Linked DNA regions of Homo sapiens: regions 1, 3, 4, 5 and 6 are each linked to region 2. The links are contacts of gene promoters, found by promoter capture Hi-C in blood cells and fetal thymus (Javierre and others, 2016). All regions are on one chromosome and are shown on one strand. The core of a region is centred on a gene start or on the middle of the fragment in contact, and the rest is flanking DNA. Distances in the headings are between cores, read along the strand shown. Region 1 has its middle 9.0 kb from the start of SNORA38B. Region 2 holds the start of PSMD12 (proteasome 26S subunit, non-ATPase 12). Region 3 overlaps HELZ (helicase with zinc finger). Region 4 has its middle 25 kb from the start of BPTF. Region 5 overlaps PITPNC1 (phosphatidylinositol transfer protein cytoplasmic 1). Region 6 overlaps BPTF (bromodomain PHD finger transcription factor).

Region 1 (3,847 bases), core at 382-2,881, 380 kb after region 2:
CAACGATCAAATTCAGAAAATTTATATTAATGGAGTATTGTTCTCTAGAGTGATTACAGTCTATATTCTGATTTCCACAGTTGTCCCAGTAATGTCTTTCATAGCTGAAGGAAGGAGGAGGGGATCTTTCTGGTAGTTGCACATTGTTGCCAAAATGAAATTCTTTTTTCTTGGAAGTATCTTCCCTCTAATTCCATACTTGCCAAGCAACTGACACTGATTTACTCTCCCAGAAACACAAATACCAGGATGGGGAGGCTCTATATGAGAGGTAATTACAGTTTCCTAAATTGGCATAATCCCTGTAAATTGACAAATTGAAATTCTTGTCTAAATTTAATTTCATGTGAACCTAATTATCCTTGGCTACTTTTCATCTCTGGATGAATTCATATGCTTTGGGTTGTCAGTGCCAAATTTGTTATGCTTTGTTTAATACGTTCAGACCACAGAGCTGACAGCATCTATTTCTTCTGGTTTGTTTGGTTATACACCAGGTAAGGGATAGTTAATATACAGATGTTTTATATTACTTCAAAATGAATTTGGACCAACAGGGCACAGTGGCTCATGCCTGTAATCCAAGCACTTCGGGAGGCTGAGGCAGGGAGATCACTTAAGCTCAGGAAATGTAACTACCACAGTAGTCGGGTAACATGGGGAGACCCTGTCTCTACAAAAATTTAAAAATTAGCTGGTTGTGTTGGTACGTGCCTGTAGTCCCAGCTACTTGGGCTGACATGAGATGATCGTTTGAGCCCAGGAGGTTGAGGCTATAGTGAGCCATGTTTGTGCCACTGTACTCCAGCTTGGGTAACAAAGCAAGACCCTGTCTCAAAAAACAAAAAAAAAGGAAAGAAGTAAAATAAACTTGGGCTTGCGCAGTGGCTTACACCTGTAATCCCAGCCCTTGGGAAGGCCGAGGCAGGCAGATCACTTGAGGCCAGAAATTCGAGACCAGCCTGGCCAACATGGCGAAACTCCATCTCTACAAAAAATACAAAAATTAGCTGGGCGTGGTGGCACATGCCTGTAATCTCAGCTACTCAGGAGGCTGAGCCACAAGAATTGCTTGAACCCGGGAAGCAGAGTTTGCAGTGAGCCGAGATAGCACCACTACATTCCAGCCTGGGCAACAAAGTGAGACTATCTCAATAAAATAAGATTCACTTAGAGAACAATAAACTTGAAGAAAATGTTCTTGGATTTGCATAGACCACATGCACCATTTCTTTACTTTACATTACTGGGTTGGACAATAGCTTATAATATGCAACAGCATACTCTACAGAATTCAGTTTGCACTATTTTCAAGTTTAGTGCATGATTCCCTTAGGAAAATCAGGAAGTTTAAGTCTTCTATTAGCTTTGGTATAGGCTTTTTATTTATGCATTGCCTCTTTCACAAAGAGACATGTACAATAAAATAGTATAATAAACCTAGGAAAGGTGGACACAAACACAAAACTGCAAAAAGTCAACAAAATTTTAGCTCACAGAGACTGATTATGTATTTTAAACTTGTGTAGGTTCCTTCTTTTTCTTTTTATTATAGACAACTCCAAACATAAAAAAAAAAAGAGTTTAACAAATACCATACATATCGCCCAGCTTCAACAGTTATCTTTTTTTTTTTTTTTTAACCAGGTCTCGGTTTGTAACCCAGGCTAAGGGTACCGTGGCGTGATCTCGGCTTATTGCAACCTCCACCTTCTGGGTTCAAGTGATTCTCATTCCTCAGCCTCTCAAGTGGTGGGGATTTCAGGCATGCACCACCATGTCCAGCTCATTTTTGTATTTTTAGTAGAGATGGGGTTTTGTCATATTGGCCAGGCTGGTCTCGAACTCCTGACAAGGTAATCTGCCTGCCTTGGACTCCCAAAGTGCTGAGATTACAGGTGTGAACCCCCATGCCCAGCCTCAGTTTCAATTTCTTTTTTTTTTTTTTTTTTTTTGAGACAAGAGTCTCACTCTGTTGCCCAGGCTGGAGTGCAGTGGCACGATCTTGGCTCACCACAACCTCCGCCTCCCAGGTTCAAGTGATTCTCCCACCTCAGCCTCCTGAGTAGCTGGGACTACAGGCGTGTGTCACCATGCCTGGCTAATTTTTGTATTTTTAATAGAGATGGAGTTTCACTATGTTGGCCAGGCTGGTCTCGAACTCCTGACCTCATGATCCACTCGCTTCGGCCTCCCAAAGTGCTGGGATTACAGGCGTGAGCCACCATGCCTGGCTGGTTTCAATTTTTGAACAAAGGAGATTAGTTCAAGGGAAGGACTATTATGGCCTCTGCATAAAAATAAGCAAAAGCACCAGCCTGGCCAACTTGGTGAAACCTCATCTCTACTAAAAATACAAAAATTTGCCGGTGTGGTGGTGGGCACCTGTAATCTCAGCTGCTCAGGAGGCTGAGGCAGGAGATCGCTTGAACATGGGAGGCAGAGGTTGCAGTGAGCTGAGATTCCGCCACTGCACTCCAGACTGGGTGACAGAGCAAGACTCTGTCTCAAAAAGAAAAAAAAAAAAAATGGAATGACCAAAAGCAACTTAGTCTGGTAGAAGCAAGATGGAGTCAGTTATGTCAGACTTCCATTACTACTATAATTTCTGCAAAGGCAATTTCAAAATCTATGGTGATTATGGTTAATAGATTATATACACGAAAATTGCTAAGAGAATAAATGTTGAGTATTCTACCACAGGCAAAAATAAGTATGTGAGGTAATATTTATGTTAATTAGCTTGATTTAGCCATTCCACAAGGTATATATATATCAAAAGATTATGTTGTACACCAAAAACAAAAAGGAAAAATTATTTTACTGGAAAACACATTGTGAATATTTTTTTCCTTCCATTAAAGCAAAAGTTGGCCAGGCATGGTGGCTCAGGCCTGTAATCACAGTACTTTGGGATGCCAAGGTGATAGCAGCAGGAGGCAGACAAACCCTAGGCAGACAGGGGCAGATCCCCAGTGAAACCCAAACTTCAAGCCAAAGACAGTTTAAAGCCTAGCTACAAGTCCTGGGTAAGTCCACAGACTGGATTGGGAAACTGTCTTCCTGTTTGGCACACTTTCCTCTGATTGATCCCCACCCTGCACCTGTTTTACATGTATATACCCTTCCCTAATTGGTGTATTACACTGTCGTGCCCACCTTTGAGTGGTGCCTTTGTTTTAGCCTTTTTTTGCTTACCCACAAACCAATCAGCACTCCCTATTCTGAGCACATAAAAGCCCCAGACCCAGCCACACTGAGTGAGAGACCACCTGACTTTGAGTAGGGGACCACCCTCACATCCCGTCTCTACTGAGAGCTGTTTTGTCACTCACTAAAATTCTTCTCCACCCTCGTCACCCTTTATTGTCAGTATAACCTCATTCTTCTTGGACAGGGGATAAGAACTTGGGACCCACCAAGCACGGGTACAAAGAAGGCTGTACACCCTCCACCAGTGGAGAGCAGCTGCCTCATGTGATGGGAAGCAGCAGCAGGGCCAAGCCAGCCCTGGAGCCTTGGGCCAGAGCAGGGCAACAGGACTGATGGTGTTGTTAACATGGCATTGTCCATCAGGCTGCGGACAAAGGGACTAAAAGAGCTAATTTGCATGCCGTAACACCCCCTCTGGGGCTTCAGGGTCATGGGCACCCCTGCCTGGGTGCCACCGTGTTCCCCTCCTCTGGATGCCAGAGTCCACCATGGGAGTCACTTGTGACATGCCTGGTCCAGCTACAAGCCCCACATGGAGCCCATTCCCCTGCCAGCACTTGGAACGGCCAGCCAGACCCCACACTCCCTCACTCACACACCCCGTCCTGCCAGGGGCTAAGCACACAGTAGTGGC
Region 2 (3,499 bases), core at 387-2,886:
TGGCAGGCAGAGGTGGGTGGATCACTTTAGGTCAGGAGGTCGCGTGCGACCAGCCTGGCCAACGTAGTGAAACCCCGTCTCTACTAAAAGTACAAAAATTAGCCGGGCGTGGTGGCACCTGTAGTCCTAGCTACTCGGGAGGCGGAGGCAGGAGAATCGTTTGAACCCGGGAGGCGGGGGTTGCAGTCAGCCAAGATTGCGCCACTGCACTCCATCCTGGGTGAAAAAAGTGAAACTCCGTCTCAAAAAAAAAAAAAAAAAAAGTTCAGGTTTTCACTACAATAGGCTTCTAGGCAGGACAGCATGGTGTGTGAGGGCACCAGCTCCAGAATCTAGAATCGGTCTGCCTGGGTTTGCTTCTTGGCTTCACCACTTTACTAGCTGTATGATCTTGGGGCATGTGATTCAACTTTTTCTAGCCCAAGTTTTCTTACCTGTAAAATAAGGATAATAGTAATAGCCATCGCATAGGGCTGAGGTGAGGATCAAATGGCTTAGTGCATGTAAGCACGGTGCCTGACACTGCAGAAACTACTCAACAAATATCAGTTATTGTTATCTGTCTGGCATTGGAGGCGGCTGAGTTTTCCCACCCTTATGTAACTGATGTTTGTTGATGCTAGCTGCTAGAAAGCTCTTAATGAATTTGTGGCTCCCCCTCAGCAAGCATACTGAACCTAAGATATACATACGTACCAACTTTATCACCTTTCTCCATCCTTGTTTCTTGGAAAGCCCGTTAAACTCTTATAGTGCCTACTTGTCTTTACTTCTGTAGTTCCGTCTTCAGTAATGACTCCACCCCACCTCAATCTTACTAATTCCTCAAGACCCAATACAAACGTCAGCCTTCCTGTAAAACCTTCCCTTATGGCACCATTAAGAATGCATAGCTTCCTTCTCGGTGTTCCAGTAACACTTTCCCCTTGTATGGCCCTCACCACCATGCATGACTTGACTAATTCATCACGTACATCAACTCCTAAAGGACAGGGTCCTGTGTTAGTCATCTTCGTACTATCACTTTCCTGCCCCTTCTCCTGGCCAAAGACCAGGCACATAGCCATGATCCACAAACGATGTAACGACATAAATTGATTGAGCAACAGCAACAGAACGAAACTCTCTGATCTAGCCTTAATACTGAAGCGGCCTTAACCCCTGGGAAACTACTAAGGTAAATATCACTTAAACAGCATCCAAGAAACGGCAAAAAGTTAAACGGAGCCCTAAGTCCCACGGAGGGAAGTGACCATCTGTTTTGGGGAGGGTCTGGGAAGCTATAGGCGCTGGCGTACTCCGCAGCCCTGGCCGGGCCGACCTGGGGTCTCCCACTCGTGCAGGCCCAACTAGGGCTGGACAGGCATTGGGGGGTGCACGCTCCAGCCCGCAGGCCCCCTGAGGCCTAAGCAGGCTCCGCGCCGTGACTCAGCCCCTGGCGCCCGCCAACAGCCAGCCGGCCTCTCCTCACCTTGGCTAGCTTCGCACACTCGGGTAGGCGCTGATCCACCGTGGCGCTGTAGTCCACCTCCATCTTGACGATGCGCCCGTCAGCCCGCTCCGAGCCGCCGTCCGCCATGGTCCCCGCCTGAGCGTCCCTTGCTGTCCCCCTGCTTCGGCCACCACTCGTCACCCACACCGGAAGTTGCCCGCGCACCCGCTCAGGCAGCCCATCGGGAGCCCACGCAAAGGACCCCTCGAGGTCCCCGGCGCTGGTTGCCACTCAGGCACTGCCGCGGACAGCCTGGGGGTGGGGCTTGAGGCGCGCGGGGCGGGACTCGCCACTCCAGCCTGCAGCGTCAGGTTTTGTCTCTGGGAACATCAGACTTTTTACCTAAAATTTGCGATGAGAAAAGCGAGTGTAATAGAACAGACCATCTCATATATCCCTACACCCCTGCTTCGAAATATGATTTCTCAGGACCGTGGCCAGTCGCTTTTCTTGGATCTCGGTTTTCTCATCTCTACATCAGGAGGCTAAAATAAACCTTAAAATAGAAAATTCTAAGGTTTTATCTACTTGAGAATCTTGGTGGCTTACTCTGTGGGATCTCTGAAAGCTCCTAAGAGAAGATATGGCAGCAGCTCAGTCATTTAATAAGCAAAGTGGTTTTTCTCTTTGTTTTCATTTTCACTGTAATCCACTAAGTTGGTAAAAAGAAAAGTTAAAAAGACATATTTGTTATCCCTATAGGATTTTCGTGAGCATCAAACTAGATGACATGTGAGACAATTTCAATTCTTAAGGGCCTTACACGTTTTATGTGTTATCATTCATACCATGCTGGTCCCTAGAAAATAGCTTGAGATCTTAAAAAAGCTTAGGATCCTTGAAAATGGGAATGAGGCCGGGCGCGGTGGCTCACGCCTGTAATCCCAGCCCTTTGGGAGGCTGAGGCGGGCGGATCATGAGGTCAGGAGATCGAGACCATCGTGGCTAACACGGTGAAACCCCGTCTCTACTAAAAATACAAAAAATTAGCCGGGCGTGGTGGCGGGCACCTGTAGTCCCAACTACTCGGGAGGCTGAGGCAGGAGAATGGCGTGAACCCAGGAGGCGAAGCTTGCAGTGAGCCGGCGAGATTGCGCCACTGCACTCCAGCCTGGGCGACAGAGCAAGACTCCGTCTCAAAAAAAAAAAAAAAAAAGAAAAAGAAAAGTAAAGAAAATGGGAATGAGGTTGTGTTTGGTGTGGGCATATGGTCAACAGCAGCCTGGAAAGCAAACAGGAAAACGGGAAATCTTGGAGTGGTTTATCTATTATGTTAGTGGTTCTCAATTTAATTAGTGCCGACATCGCTTTATAGATGCTGAATAGATCTCTTTGTTTGTTTTAACTGCAATGAAAATCAGGGAAAATATAAACCATCTACAAGCAAAATAAGACAATATCTCAGCTATAATCTGTAATGTAGAGGAGAAACAAATTTTACCTTTTTTTTATTTTTGTAGAGATAGCAGCTATACTACGTAGCCCAGGCTGGTCTCAAACACCTGGCCTCAAGCAGTCCTCTCACCTTGGCCTCCTAAAGTGCTGAGATTACAGGTGTGAGCCACTGTGCCCAACCAAGAAACAAATTTTAAAATAGCAAAATAATATATATTTCAAGAGATAAGGGCTAAAACATGTCTACAGTGGAAAATACAAGGAAGTAGTTATTTACACCCATACACAATAACTATAAATGTAAAAGCTGCAACTGCAACAGGTGTGTTCTCTTGGTTCCTGAAGCATGGTAAGGGCCTATTGTTGGTGACATTTTCCAAAATGGTGAGCAACAAGCCACTTCTTGGTAAAGCTCTTATTGTTTTTTTTTTATTTTATAGTCCATCAGATGGGTCTTATGGCTCATGCCTATAATCCCAGCACTTCGGGATGCTGAGGTGGGTGGATCACTTGAGGCCAGTAGTTCAAGACCAGCCTGACCAACATGGCGAAACCCCGTCTGTACTAAAAATGCAAAAATTAGCCAGTCGTCATGGCACGCACCTGTAATCC
Region 3 (3,336 bases), core at 707-3,206, 260 kb before region 2:
ACAAAAGAAGTGCAAGACTTATACTTGGAAAATTACAAAATACTGTTGAAAGAAATGTTAAGCGTCCTGAACAAATAGAAAGATGTCCATGTTCAGGTACTCGAAGACTTAATATTGTTAAGGTTGCAATACTCCCCAAATTAATCTAGAGATTTAAAGCAATTCTTTTTTTAAATGTCAGCTGGCTTTTTTTCTGAAGAAATTAGTAAGCTGATCCTAAACCTCACATGAGAAAATTCAAGGAACCCAGAATAGCCAAAACAATCTTCCAAAAGAACAAAATATAAGGACTCATACTTCCAATTCCAAAACTTACTACAATACTACAGTGTACAATACAGTGTGGTACTGGCAGAAAGACAGACACACAGATAAATGAAATACAATGGAGAATCCACAAATAAACCCAGCATCTACAGTCAACTGATTTTTGACAATGTTGCCAAGACTATTCAATGGGGGAAAGGAGTCTTTTCAAAAGCGGTGCTGAGAAAACTGTATGGCCACATGCAAAAGAATGAATTTGATACCCACCTCACACAATATACAAAAATTAACTCAAAATGGACCAAAGAACTAAGAACCAAGTGTAAGAGGTAAAACTATAAAACTATAAAAAGGGGCCGGGTGCGGTGGCTCAAGCCTGTAATCCCAGCACTTTGGGAGGCCGAGGCGAGCAGATCACGAGGTCAGGAGATTGAGACTATCCTGGCTAACATGGTGAAACCCCGTATCTACTAAAAAAAATACAAAAAAAATTAGCCGGGTGTGGTGGTGGACACCTGTAGTTCCAGCTATTCCGGAGGGTGAGGCAGCAGAATGGCGTGAACCCGGGAGGCGGAGCTTGCAGTGAGCCGAGATGGCGCCACTGCACTCCAGCCTGTGCAACAGAGCGAGACGCCATTTCAAAAAAAAAAACAAACAACTATAAAAAGGAAATGTAAAAGTACATCTTTGCCATCTTGGATTAGGCCAGGGTTTCTTGGATATGACACCAAAAGCATAAGCAGCCAAAGAAAAAAATAGATAAATTGTAGTTTAGCATCAAAGGACACTATCAAGAAAGTGAAAAGACAACCCACACAGTGAGAGAAATAATTGCAAATCATATATGAGATTAAGAGTCTGTACCAGAATACATTAAAAAAAACCTCTTATAACTAAGTAACAAAAAAATAACCATTTTTTTAAATGGCTGAAGCATATGAATAGACATTTCTCCAAAAAAGATACAAATGACCAAGAAGCACATGCAAAGATGTCAACATCATCAGTAAATAGGGAAATGCAAATCAAAACTACAGTGAGGGCTGGGCGCGGTGGCTTACGCCTGTAATCCCAGCACTTTGGGAGGCTGGGGGCGGATCACCTGAGGTCAGGAGTTTGAGACCAGCCTGGCCAATATCGTGAAACCCCGTCTCTACTAAAAATACAACAACAACAACAACAAAATTAGCTGGGTGTGGTGGTGGGCGCCTGTAGTCCCAGCTACTCAGGAGCCTGAGGCAAGAGAATTGCTTGAACCTAGAAGGCAGAGGTTGCAGTGAGCCAAGATCATGCCACTGCGCTCCAGCCTGGGCGACTGAGTGCGACTCCGTGTCAAAAAACAAACAAACAACACTACAATGAGATCCTACTACACACCCATTAGGATGGTTATAATTTTTTTTACAAAGCGAGTATATAGAGAAATTGGAATCCTCATACATAGCTGTGGGAATATAAATGTGCAGAGAACACAGTTTGCAGTTCCTCAAAAAGTTAAACATAGACTTACTACATCACCCAAGAACTCCACTCCTAAGTTACAGTGTGGATGCACTTCAAAAGCCAGATATAAAAGGCCACATAATGTATGACTCAATTTTTATGAAATGTCTCCATAGACACAGAAAGTAGATTAGTGGTTACTAATCTGAGAGTGGGGAAATTGGGGTGTAATTGCTTAACAGTTATGGGGTTTCTTTTATGGGTGATGAAATGTTCTGGAATTAGACAGTAGTGATGACTGTATAACATTGTGAATACACTAAAATCCACCAAATTGTACAATTTAAAATGGCTAAAATGGTGACTTTTATGTGAATTTTATTATAAATAGCTAAAACATCACTTAACTGAAAATTACATTACTGATCAGTTGTAAAACTACTGTTCATTATAATCTGAAAGACTGTCAGATGTGTGCCAAATTTTTGTAAAGTATGGTTCCAAAATTCTAGATCCTCACAATACATATATGTAGATACCAATTCATCTTTATTGTGCTTCTAACTTACTTTAAGAGCCTAAAATCACAGTAAGTTGTTTTAATGACAGCTATACAGAATGAGCCAATCAATGAATACTGGGACAATTTGAACAGACTGCCTCTAAATCCCTACAAATAAGACATACAGCTTTCCCTATGAATCTTGACTTTTAATTAGCATCTATAGCAGGCAACTTGTAAAATGTGAATCAATTATTTCTAATGGCCTTTAGATATCATTCTGAAACTGCCAAAATGAAGCTAATATCAAAAAAGTATTTTTCATATATCAAAATTAGAAATCTTTATCCTGATTTAAGATGTCTCTGTCTGATATGACTACAACCGGCTTTACACATTTTTATCTTTAATCACTGCAAATTTAATGGGATCAGCTAGACATTTTTGTAGCCTACACCACATGGTACTGCTTTGGAAGTTTTATAACCTGGAATTACTAAGTTTTTCATAGGAAAAAAAAGTCCATAAAGATGCTCTTTAGAAATATCTAAGTATTTTACTTTATTTATTTATTTTTTTTTTTGAGACAGAGTCTTGCTCTGTCGCCCACGCTGGAGTGCAGTGGCATATCTTGGCTCACTGCAAGCTCAGCCTCCCGGGTTCACGCCATTCTCCTGCCTCAGCCTCCCGAGTAGCTGGGACTACAGGCGCCCGCCACCACGCCCAGCTAATTTTTTCTATTTTTAGTAGAGACGGGGTTTCACCGTGTTAGCCAGGATGGTCTCGATCTCCTGACCTCGTGATCTGCCCGCCTCGGCCTCCCCAAGTGCTGGGATTACAAGCGTGAGCCACTGCACCCGGCAGAAATATCTAAGTATTTTAAGATAAAATTCAGTTTAACTTAAAATGCTTAGTTTAGCACAGTCAATTTTATGTTAAAAATCTGCAAATTCTGATATTTGGGAATCAGAGTCCCTGGGTCTAACAAAGCACCAGGCTGAGTGGCAGGAGAAGGAGCACAGCACTTGGAGCTGGCACTGGCTGAAAAGCCAGCATCTTTGGAAAGTTCTCATTAACAAATTTATAATTAACACATGTAACTTAAAGCGAAAAGAAGAATCACT
Region 4 (3,502 bases), core at 139-2,638, 430 kb after region 2:
TGTTGGTCAGGCTGGTCTCGATCTCTTGACCTCGTGATCTGCCTGCCTTGGCCTCCCAAAGTGCTGGGATTACAGGTGTGAGCCACCGCACCCAGCCGATCCTGTGCATTTTTTTAGCTTTGAGCAGGCTTGGATCTCAGCCAACTGGATGATGGCCTTGCAGAACTGTTTAGACTCACAGCAACAGAGCCGGCATGCCTGCAGAGTTCCCAGGCCACGGTGCTTTGGATGCGGGACTTCTCTGCCATCCCCTGCCATTGTGGTCTTGCTGGCAGGATATCTACCAAACAGTTTAGGCTGCTCAGCTCACAAATACGGGAAGCAAACTCTTTGAAGACTGCGAGGAGGCATGAGCTGAACCAAGTGTGCTCCAAGCACTCCTAGCTGTCAGGTAATGGGGAATGCCCCCCTTGAAGGCCACTTAGATCACTAGCAATGCTGTCTTCTTCACCATGAGGTCACTGACGTTAATCATCCAGTTTTCTTGCTGTGGAGTCACAGGAGAGTAAGTCATTTAGGCTGAAGACTTTTTTGTGTGTCCTTCTCCTGCCAGCTTGAGAAAGCTAGGGACTTCTTTTTTGTTTTTTGAGGCGGACTCTCGCTCTGTCGCCCAGGCTGGAGTGCAGTGGCGTGATCTCAGCTCACTGCAAGCTCTGCCTCCCGGGTTCACGCCATTCTCCTGCCTCAGCCTCCCAAGTAGCTGGGACTACAGGCGCTCGCCACCACGCCCGGCTAATTTTTGTACTTTTAATAGAGACAGGGTTTCACCATGTTAGCCAGGATGGTCTCAATCTCCTGACCTCGTGATCCGCCCGCCTCTGCCTCCCAAAGTGCTGGGATTACAGGCGTGAGCCACTGCTCCCCGGCCAGGCTGGGGACTTCTTGATACAAGCTGGATGAGCTTGCCTTGAGGATATGAGGCTAGGCTGACTTTAGGGAAGTCAGTTTTTGGAAAGAGTTCTCAATCTCTGAAACAAAGCACACAGTGAAGCTGGTAGCAAAGAAATCCATTTTTGTTTGTTTTTTTTTTAGAGACATCGTCTCATTCTGTCACCCGGGCTGGAATACAGTGCTTGATCATAGCTCAGTATAACCCTGAAGTCCTGGGCTCAAGTGATCCTCCTCCTTCAGCCTCCCCAGTAGCTGGGACCACAGGTGTGCACCACCACGTCCAGCTAATTTTTTTATTTCTATAGAAACAGGGTCTCGCTGTGTTGCTCAGGCTGGCCTCAAACTCCTGGGCTCAAGTGATCCTCCCGCCTTGGCCTCCCAAAGTGCTGGGATTACAGGCATGCGCCATTGCACCCGGCGAATCCTAGATTCTAGAATTGCTTGGGGTAAGGGGTCTCCTAATCCAGGAACCCAGACCCTTTGCTCTGCTTGAGAACGCACTGTCTGAACTGAACATAACCCACGTCAGTCCGGCTCACAAAACTACACTTATGGGGATTGGCCTGGAGGTGGCGCCCCTGTTGTTGGTCTAGAAATGCTGGCCAGAGGCTCAGGCCAGTCTGGCAAATGGATAAGAACATCACCCAATGGAAGAGGATGTCACAGCTCAGAAGGCTGGGCTGCACGCTTTATCAGCCCCTGGAAGAGAGCAGGGGCACTGCCCAAGCCTGAAAACATTGCACTTCCTTAAACTGCTCAACACTTATCTTGACATCTGTGGGTTTTTTTGTTTGTTTGTTTTTTGTTTTTAGATATGTCTCACTCTGTCACCCAGGCTGGAATACAGTGGCACGATCTCTGTTCACTGCAACCTCCACCTCCTGGGTTCAATCGATTCTCCTGTCTTGGCCTCCCAAGTAGCTGGGATTACAGGCATCCACCACCATGCCCGGCTAATTTTTGTATTTTTAGTAGAGACGGGGTTTCACCATGTTGGCCAGGCTGGGCTCGAACTCCTGACCTCAAATGATCCACCTGCCTCGGCCTCCCAAAGTGCTGGGATTACAGGCGTGAGCCACCATGCCCAGCCTTGACATCTGTTTTTAACTTCCATTCCCAGGTCCAGAGTGATCTGGGTTTTAAATATTACACCTTGATGTCTTAATAAAACTTCCAAATCCAGCCTTCCCAAAAAATTATTCCATGACACAGCTTAAACACTCTTCTGATCAAAATGTACTGAGTGTTTTTTAGGGCAAAGATACATGTGACATCTTTGGTGGGTTGGTTTGTTTGAGGCAGGATCTCTGTTACCAAGGCTGGAGTGCAGTGGTGCAATCTAGGCTCACTGCAACCTCTGCCTCCTGGGCCCGAACCATCCTCCCACCTCAGCTTCCCAAGCAACTGGGACTACAGGTGCGTGCCTGGCTAATTTTTGTATTTTTTGTAGAGACGGGATTTTACCATATTGCCCAGGCTGGTCTCGACCTCCTGGTCTCAAGTGATCCACCCGCCTTGGCCTCCCAAAGAGTTGGGCTTACAGGCATGAGCCACCACGCCTGGCCACATCTGATATCTTTAATAAAAAGACTCCAAGCAGGGCGGGCCTGAGATGGAAGAATCGCTTGAACCCGGGAGACAGAGGTTGCTGTGAGCCGAGATCGCGCCATTGCAATCTAGCCTGGGTGACAAGAGCAAAACTCTGTCTCAAAAAAAAAAAAAAAAAAAGACTGCAAGCAGGCTAGATTGAAGGGCTGGTCATACTTTCATCACCCCATGTCCCGCAGCCTGGCCAGTTTCACCCCATAGTTATGTTGAGCACCTCCTAGCGGAGGGGTCAGGTAAGTCAGGTAGCTGCAGGTGGTCTGAGAGATTCCATTCATTCATTTCTGGGCCACTGATCTGGCCAAGGGATTCAATCTATGTAAACGGGTTGAGGCATGTCTGCAAGACTGCCTTCTGTTCCTTGCCTCTGTGATCTGGGTCTGCTTTTCTGAACACGAAGGAGTCAGACAATCAGCAAAGCAAGGCGCAGTCCTGGGGAGTGACTGCTATAAGACTACAGTAGCCCTGGCTGAGGTCAGAGCCTATAGAATTTGGTCCAGCCTGGCCATACCTGTTTGTAAGGGCAATCTACTGTATGTACGTGGATGTGTGTTTTCCCAGGACAAGGCAAAGAAGATCCATTCCTTCCAGCCTCAATCTGTATTAGTCAGGGTTCTCCAGGGAGACAGATTCAACAGGAGAGAAAGAGAGAAAGACGAAATGGAGTTTATTTATTAGGGAAATTGGCAAGAAGTCCCAAAACAGGTCGTCTGCAGACTGGAGACCCTGGGAGGCTGGTAGTATGGCTCAATTCAAGTCCCGAAGGCCTCAGAATCAGGGAATCTGATGGTGTAGCTCTCAGTTCAAGGCCAAAGGCCTGAGAAGCCAGGAAGGGTGGAGGAGAGGGGAGAAGTCCTGGAGTTTGAAGGCTGGGGAGCCTGGAGTTGTTGTCCAAGGACAGGAGAGGAAGAATGTGTCCCAGCTCCAGCAGATAGCTTGACATAGTTACCTCTCTGTTTTTGTTCTCTCCGGGACCCTAGGAGATTGGATAAATAATGCTTTACCA
Region 5 (3,310 bases), core at 270-2,769, 300 kb after region 2:
GTGGCTCACACCTGTAATCCCAGTACTTTGGGAGGCCAAGAAGGGAGGATCACTTGAGGTGAGAAGTTGGAGACCAGCCTGGGCAACATAGTGAGACCCATCTCTACAAAAGAAGAAAAGAAAAAATTGAGGCCAGGCACGGTGGCTCACACCTGTAATCCCAGCACTTTGGGAGGCCGAGGCGGGCAGATCACGAGGTCAGGAGATCGAGACCATCCTGGCTAACACAGTGAAACCCCGTCTCTACTAAAAACAAAAAAATTAGCCAGGCGTGGTGGCGGGCACCTGTAGTCCCAGCTACTCGGGAGGCTAAGACAGGAGAATGGCGTGAACCCGGGAGGTGGAGCTTGCAGTGAGCCGAGATCGCACCACTGCACTCCAGCCTGGGCGACAGAGCGAGACTCCATCTCAAAAAAAAGAAAGAAAGAAAAAAAGAGAAAAGAAAAAATTGAGACACAATATAATTCACCCTTTTAAATAAATGTGCAATTCAGTGGTTTTTCGCATATGCACAAGGTTGTGCAACTGTCACCACTGTCTAATACCAGAATGTTTTCATCACTCCAAGAGGAAATGTTATATCCATTCATAATCACTCTACATCCCTTCCTTTCCTCAATCCATGTCAACTACTAATCTACTTTCTGTCTCTATGTTTGTTTGTTTGTTTTTGAGATGGAGTTTCGCTCTTGTTACCTAGGCTAGAGTGCAATGGCGCAATCTTGGCTCACCACAACCTCTGCCTCTCGGGTTCAAGCAATTCTCCTGCCTTAGCCTCCCGAGTAGCTGGGATGATAGGCAGTAGGTGGGATTACCACCATGCCCAGCTAATTTTTGTATTTTTAGTAGAGATGGGGTTTCTCCATGTTGGTCAGGCTGGTCTTGAACTCCCGACCTCAGGTGATCCGCCCGCCTCAGCCTCCCAAAGTGCTGGGATTACAGGCGTGAGCCACCACACCCAGCCCTATTTCTATGTTATTTAATACTTATTCCTGACATTTAATAATGATGGTCAAACTTTTAATATATCAATTTCTTTGATTTTTTTTTTTCTAGGATCCTAAGCACTTCAAGTCAGAGAAGACAGGACGGGGACAGTTGAGGGAAGGCTGGAGAGATAGTCATCAGCCTATCATGTGCTCCTACAAGCTGGTGACTGTGAAGTTTGAGGTCTGGGGGCTTCAGACCAGAGTGGAACAATTTGTACACAAGGTAAGTGGTCCAACAGCAGTTCCTGGGCTGTGGACAAGGTAACTGTCTATATTGCCAAATTGGAGTCCATGATACACAACAGGTGCACAAATACATCAGGTCACTGCATCTCAAAAACACTTTTTGGGCCGGTTGGGGTGGCCAACACCTGTAATCCTAGCACTTTGGGAGGCCGAGGCGGGTAGATCACTTGAGGCCAAGAGTTCAAGACCGGCCTGGCCAACATGGTGAAACCCTGTCTCTACTAAAAATACAAAAACATTAGCTGGGCATGGTGGTGGGTGCCTGTAACCCAGCTACTCAGGAGGCTGAGGCAGGAGAATTACTTGAACCCGGGAGGCAGAGATTGCAGTGAACCAAGATCGTATTATTGCACTCCAGCCTGGGCAATAAGAGAGAAACTCTGTCTCAAAAAATAAGAAATAAAAATAAAAAATAAAAAAATAAAAAATACTTTTTGGATGAAAATGCATTTTATGCATAGGTTCAATTTTCTTCCACTAATAGATGTTTTATGCCCCATCTCTCATTCTGTGACCTCCATGTCTATTAGGCAAGCGTATTTGGGAAACACACTTCTCAGTTTGGTATTGGACTCATCTACTCCCAGACAGAGAAACTTGGGAAACAGCCAAAGGGCTTATCTGTGAGCACAGCCCCTAAGGTTAATTGCCACCCAAAAGATCTACAAATGTAAGCACCTAAGCAGAAGATGCCCAGAGGTAGAACAAGAAATCCCAATAGTCCCATTAGACAGTATACCCCAGCATTTCTGCTTCTTTAATAATTCTGTTACTAAAGTAGCCAGGTGTGGTGGCTCATGCCTGTAATACCAGCCCTTTGGGAGGCTGAGGCAGGTGGATCACTTGAGGTCAGGAGTTCGAGACCAGCCTGGCCAACCTGGTGAAACCCTGTCTCTGCTAAAAATACAAAAAAATTAGCCGGGTGTGGTGGCACGTGCCTATAATCCCAGCTACTCAGGAGGCTGAGGCAGGGAGAATTGCTTGAACCCAGGAGGCAGAGGTTGCAGTGAGCCAAGATCGTGCTGCTGCACTCCAGCCTGGGTGACAGAGCAAGACTCCATCTCAAAAAAAAAAAAAAAAAAAGGAAATAATAAGAATAATTCTGTTACCAAATAATTGTTAACAGCCTCGGGATGCAGATTTCAATTGTAAACCTACTTTGGCTAAACATGTTCATTTTGGTTTTTTGTTGTTGTTGCTGCTGCTGTTGTTTTGAGACGGAGTCTCACTCTGTCGCCAGGCTGGAGTACAGTGGCACAATCTCAGCTCACTGCAACCTCTGCCTCCCGGGTTCAAGTGATTATCCTGCCTCAGCCTCCCGAGTAGCTGGGACTACTGGGAGGTGCGCACGCCACCATGCCCAGCTAATTTTTGTATTTTTAGTAGAGATGGAGTTTCACCATGTTGGCAGGGATGGTCTCGATCTCTTGACCTCCTGATCTATCTGCCTCGGCCTCCCAAAGTGCTGGGATTACAGACATGACCCACCGTGCCCGGCCGGCATGTTCATTTTGTAGCAGAATCCCACTTGGTGAAGAGTCATATTTTCTCAGGGTTTCTAACATGACTCTGTCCCTCATGGGAGAAAAAAATGGGAAATGCAATGTTGAGCATTGCCCTTTGTAGCTGCTCTCATTTTCATAAGAATAAATACTACCCAAATTGTCTCTACATTCCAGATAGGCTGGTTATCTGTTTATTTTTCCACTTAAAAACTGATAAGAGTAGCTTGCCAAAATTATTTTGGAGTCACTGGAATTTAACCTTAATGCACTGAGCTTTTTGTTACTTAGATGGATTTGTCTATTGAGATTGGGGGCCAGTTAACAATAAAAAGTTTAATTCTGGAATTTAGGTCCAAGAACTAGACTGCCAGTCTCTTGAACCCTCATAACTCAGGCTCACGGTAATGGCAGACTCTGGCACAAACATGAGAGCCCTGGGTGTTTTCTTGAACAGAGAAGCATGCCACTCCTTTCCCGTGCTCCAGAACCCAGCCAGCCAGCCAGGAGCCAGAATGAAATGTGATACGTAGAAATCAAGCTCCAGGATCTCCTGTTTTCCTCCTGTGTCCT
Region 6 (3,434 bases), core at 161-2,660, 500 kb after region 2:
CCTGGGCTCAAGTGATCCTCCAGCCTTGGCCTCCCAAAGCGCTAGGATTACAACAGGCGTGGACCACCACACGCCTTTAAACAGCATTTTAAAAATCTGTATTCATTTTCCGAATCAACTAAACTATGCTTTTAAATCTATACAGCTTTCTACTCCCCATTCTAGGTACAAACCACATATTAACTTACTGACTTCCCGTGCCTGAATTCCTTCTGTCCACGTTCAGTTCTGTATGTCCAGCAGACTCCTGGACCTGTCCGCAAGGCAGGCACCTCAAACGTGTTTAAAACCAAACTCATCGTTTCCCCCCATTACCTACTCTTCATCCAGCGTTCTCATCTTAGTAAATGGAATTACTGTCCCACCAGCTGCTCAAGCTAGAAATATGAGAATAAACTTTTTCCTTTATTGTTTGCTATGCCTTTAAAATAAATATTGAATCAGTTTCTCTCCATTCCCACTGTCCCTCCGTGATACAAGCCAGTGTCATCTTCATTAGACTAGTCAGTCACCCCTAAAGTAGTGTAACCCCCTACCCCAACCTTCCAAGATTTTTTCTTTTTTTTTTTTTTTTGAGATGGAGTCTCACTCAGGCTGGACTGCAGTGGCCCAGTCTCAGCTCACTGCAACCCCCTGCCTCTTGGATTCAAGCGACTCCCGAGTGGGTGGGATTACGGGCGGCCGCCACCACACCTGGCTAATTTTGTATTTTTAGTAGAGACAGGGTTTCACCATGTTGGCCAGGCTGATATTGAACTCCTGACCTCAGGTGATCAGCCCACCTCAGCCTCCAAATGTGCTGGGATTACAGATGTGAGCCACCATGCCCAGCCATAGCTGGATGATTTTTAAAACAGCAATTTTGATCAAGTCTCCTTTTCCCCTAAGTTGAAAAACCTTTTAATTACAATTACTTCCATTTGCCCTTAACCAAAACTTCAGATTCTTTAGCACAGATCCCTAACTTTGTACATTTAATTATCTTGCTTTCTAACACTTAAGACAACATAAATAAAAAGCAAACCAAAGCACCTAAAAACCTGTTGGCTAACTAGCTCATTCTTGAGGTCTCAGCCTATTTATGCTACTTCCTAGGGATTTCTTTGCCTGCACCCCTTTCTTTCCCTGAACCCCTTTTTCTCTTGCATCGTGAAATACTACTTTTTAAAACACCCATCCTACCAATAGTTTTTTTGTTTTGTTTTGTTTTTTGATACAAGTCTCACTCTGTCGCCCAGGCTGGAGTGCAGTGGCACAACCTTGCTTCACTGCAACCTCCGCCTCCCAGGTTCAAGTGATTCTTCTGCCTCAGCCTCCCAAGTAGCTGGGATTACAGGTGCCTGCCACCACACCCGGCTAATTTTTGTATTTTTAGTAGAGATGGGGTTTCACCATGTTGGCCAGTCTGGTTTTGGACTCCCGACCTCAGGTAATCCACCTGCCTCGGACTCCGAAAGTGCTGGGATTACAGGCGTGAGCCATCGTGCCCGGCCTAGTTACTTGTTTTAAGGTAAATATTATACACTTCATAAGGTGAGGAAAATGATGACAACTATGTATATGATACCCATGAAGTGCTGGTACTACTCTAAACACTTTATATATTTTAATTAATTTAATTCTAACAACAGCATCTTCCAGGATATGTACCGTCACCCTATTTTTCAGATGGAGAGACTGAGGCATAGAGAGTTTTAAGTAATTTATCCAAGATCACACAACTACAAAGTGGTGGGATCGGGATTTGAACCTAGGCATTCTGGCTCCAGAATGTGTGCTCCTAAGCACTACTTGGGCTGCTTGACCAAGAGCTTAGGACCTAGCTTTTGTCTTTAATTGCTGAATTGCTAGTTTTATCAGTTTCCTGCAGCTGCTATAACAAAGTACTATACCAAAAAAAAGTACTATAAAACTGGGTAGTTTAAAACAGTAGAAATTGATTATTTAACAGTTTTGGAGAATAGAAGTCTAAACTCAAAGGTGTCAGCAGGGCCATGCTCCCTCTGCAGGCTCTAGGAAAAAAATCCTTGCTTTTTTTTTTTTTTTTGGCCTTTTCTAGCTTCTAGCACCCCAAGTGTCCTTGGCTTGCTGGCAGCATAATTCCAATCTCCCTGTCACTATCTTTTCAAGGCAGCTTAGGTTTTTTCTATCAAGCACCTAACAGTTCTTCAGCCTCTTCCCATTACCCAGTTCCAAAACCACTTTCACATTTTTGAGTATGTTAGCAGCAGCACCCCACTTCCCGTACCAAAAGTTGGGAGTTTTCCAGGGCCACCATAACAAAGTACCACAAATGGGGTGGCTTGAAAAAATATGAATTTATTGTCTCACAGTCCTGGAGGCCAGAAGTCTGAAATCATGGGTCAGCAGGGTTGGTTTTTCTGGAGACTTTCAAAGAGAATCTGTTCCATGCCTGTCTCCTAGCTTCTGGCAGTCCTTAGCATTTCTTGGTTTACAAACAGACACATCACTCCAGTTGCTGCCTCTATGCTACCTTCTTTTCTTTTTCTTTTCATTTTTTTGAGACACGGAGTCTCTGTTGCCCAGGCTGGAGTGCAGTGGCACGATCTCGGCTCACTGCAACCTCCACCTCCCAGGTTCAAGTGATTCTCCTGCCTCAGCCTCCCAAGTAGCTGGGACTACAGGCACATGCCACCATTCCTGGCCAATTTTTTGTATTTTTAGTAGAGATGGGGTTTCACCATGTTGGCCAGGATGGTCTCCATCTCCTGACCTTGTGATCTGCCCGCCTTGGCCTCTCAAAGTTCTAGAATTACAGGCGTGAGCCACCACGCCCGGCCCATTACCTTCTTTTCTATGTGTCACCTTGGGTCCTCTCCTTTTCTAAGGATACCAGTCATTTGACTTAGGGGCCACCCTAAATCCAGGATGATTTTTATCTCAAGATCCTTAACTTTACATCTGCAAAGACCCTATTTCCAAATAAGATCACATCCTGAGGTTGCAGGTGGACATGAACTTTGGGGACATTATTCAACTCATTTCACTAGTGTTCTTTACTCTTCATTTCTATGGGTTTGTTTAGAAACGAAAGTTGAAACTTACTGTGAGTCATTAACCTTCTACTTAGCTAGCCTAGGTAAAAGTCAAAGAAGCTTTAAAATGTAGACATATAATATGTATGTTTGCTCTTAATTATATTTTTAGCAAACCTTTTCTTGCCAGTCTGTCTTCTCTTTGCCACCCTATGAGTCCTTGAGAATGTGTGCCCAGTGGTAACTTCAGGGAAGCCTGGCCAGTTTGGGTGAGCCTGAGGAACATGGTAGGCCTTGTAAGAACCAGAGCTTCTACAGAACCACATTATAACTCCAAAACCAAATATACATACATAATGTATATTTATGTGGAAAGCTGTTGTCACTTTTACAATGAGGACAAATAATTTTGATTATATAAACTGTATATAGGCCAAG

What was found. Contacts are between HindIII fragments. The CHiCAGO score rates a contact against its expected background, and 5 or more counts as called.
Region 1: a contact is called between a fragment that was not itself captured here and the fragment with the promoter of PSMD12 in region 2, in 8 of 17 cell types (megakaryocytes, naive CD8 T cells, M1 macrophages and 5 more). The highest score is 9.6, in megakaryocytes.
Region 3: a fragment that was not itself captured here is called in contact with the fragment with the promoter of PSMD12 in region 2 in 1 of 17 cell types (monocytes); the score reaches 6.5 in monocytes.
Region 4: a fragment that was not itself captured here is called in contact with the fragment with the promoter of PSMD12 in region 2 in 3 of 17 cell types (erythroblasts, megakaryocytes and naive B cells); the score reaches 7.6 in erythroblasts.
Region 5: a contact is called between a fragment that was not itself captured here and the fragment with the promoter of PSMD12 in region 2, in 14 of 17 cell types (naive CD4 T cells, total CD8 T cells, naive CD8 T cells and 11 more). The highest score is 21.7, in naive CD4 T cells.
Region 6: a fragment that was not itself captured here is called in contact with the fragment with the promoter of PSMD12 in region 2 in 8 of 17 cell types (naive CD8 T cells, naive CD4 T cells, megakaryocytes and 5 more); the score reaches 7.8 in naive CD8 T cells.

Annotation. Positions count from the first base shown.
Region 1 is chr17:67,747,700-67,751,546 of GRCh38, forward strand. No RefSeq gene overlaps it. Among named protein-coding and RNA genes, the nearest start is that of SNORA38B, 9.0 kb to the left of the region's middle. The HindIII fragment of the contact is 6,806 bases long and covers 1-3,847 here.
Region 2 is chr17:67,364,941-67,368,439 of GRCh38, forward strand. PSMD12 (proteasome 26S subunit, non-ATPase 12) reads right to left here and starts at 1,637. Exons shown (of 11, transcript NM_002816.5): 1 at 1,472-1,637. The coding sequence starts at 1,579. RefSeq lists enhancers at 1,453-1,512, 1,533-1,842. The HindIII fragment of the contact is 3,672 bases long and covers 1-2,318 here.
Region 3 is chr17:67,103,532-67,106,867 of GRCh38, forward strand. All of the region lies in intron 31 of HELZ (helicase with zinc finger), which reads right to left. Among named protein-coding and RNA genes, the nearest start is that of CACNG1, 61 kb to the left of the region's middle. The HindIII fragment of the contact is 4,509 bases long and covers 1-3,336 here.
Region 4 is chr17:67,799,123-67,802,624 of GRCh38, forward strand. No RefSeq gene overlaps it. Among named protein-coding and RNA genes, the nearest start is that of BPTF, 25 kb to the right of the region's middle. The HindIII fragment of the contact is 4,398 bases long and covers 1-3,502 here.
Region 5 is chr17:67,668,452-67,671,761 of GRCh38, forward strand. PITPNC1 (phosphatidylinositol transfer protein cytoplasmic 1) reads left to right here. Exons shown (of 9, transcript NM_012417.4): 7 at 1,057-1,212. Among named protein-coding and RNA genes, the nearest start is that of NOL11, 48 kb to the right of the region's middle. The HindIII fragment of the contact is 7,066 bases long and covers 1-3,310 here.
Region 6 is chr17:67,860,783-67,864,216 of GRCh38, forward strand. All of the region lies in intron 2 of BPTF (bromodomain PHD finger transcription factor), which reads left to right. Among named protein-coding and RNA genes, the nearest start is that of BPTF, 37 kb to the left of the region's middle. The HindIII fragment of the contact is 3,407 bases long and covers 1-3,114 here.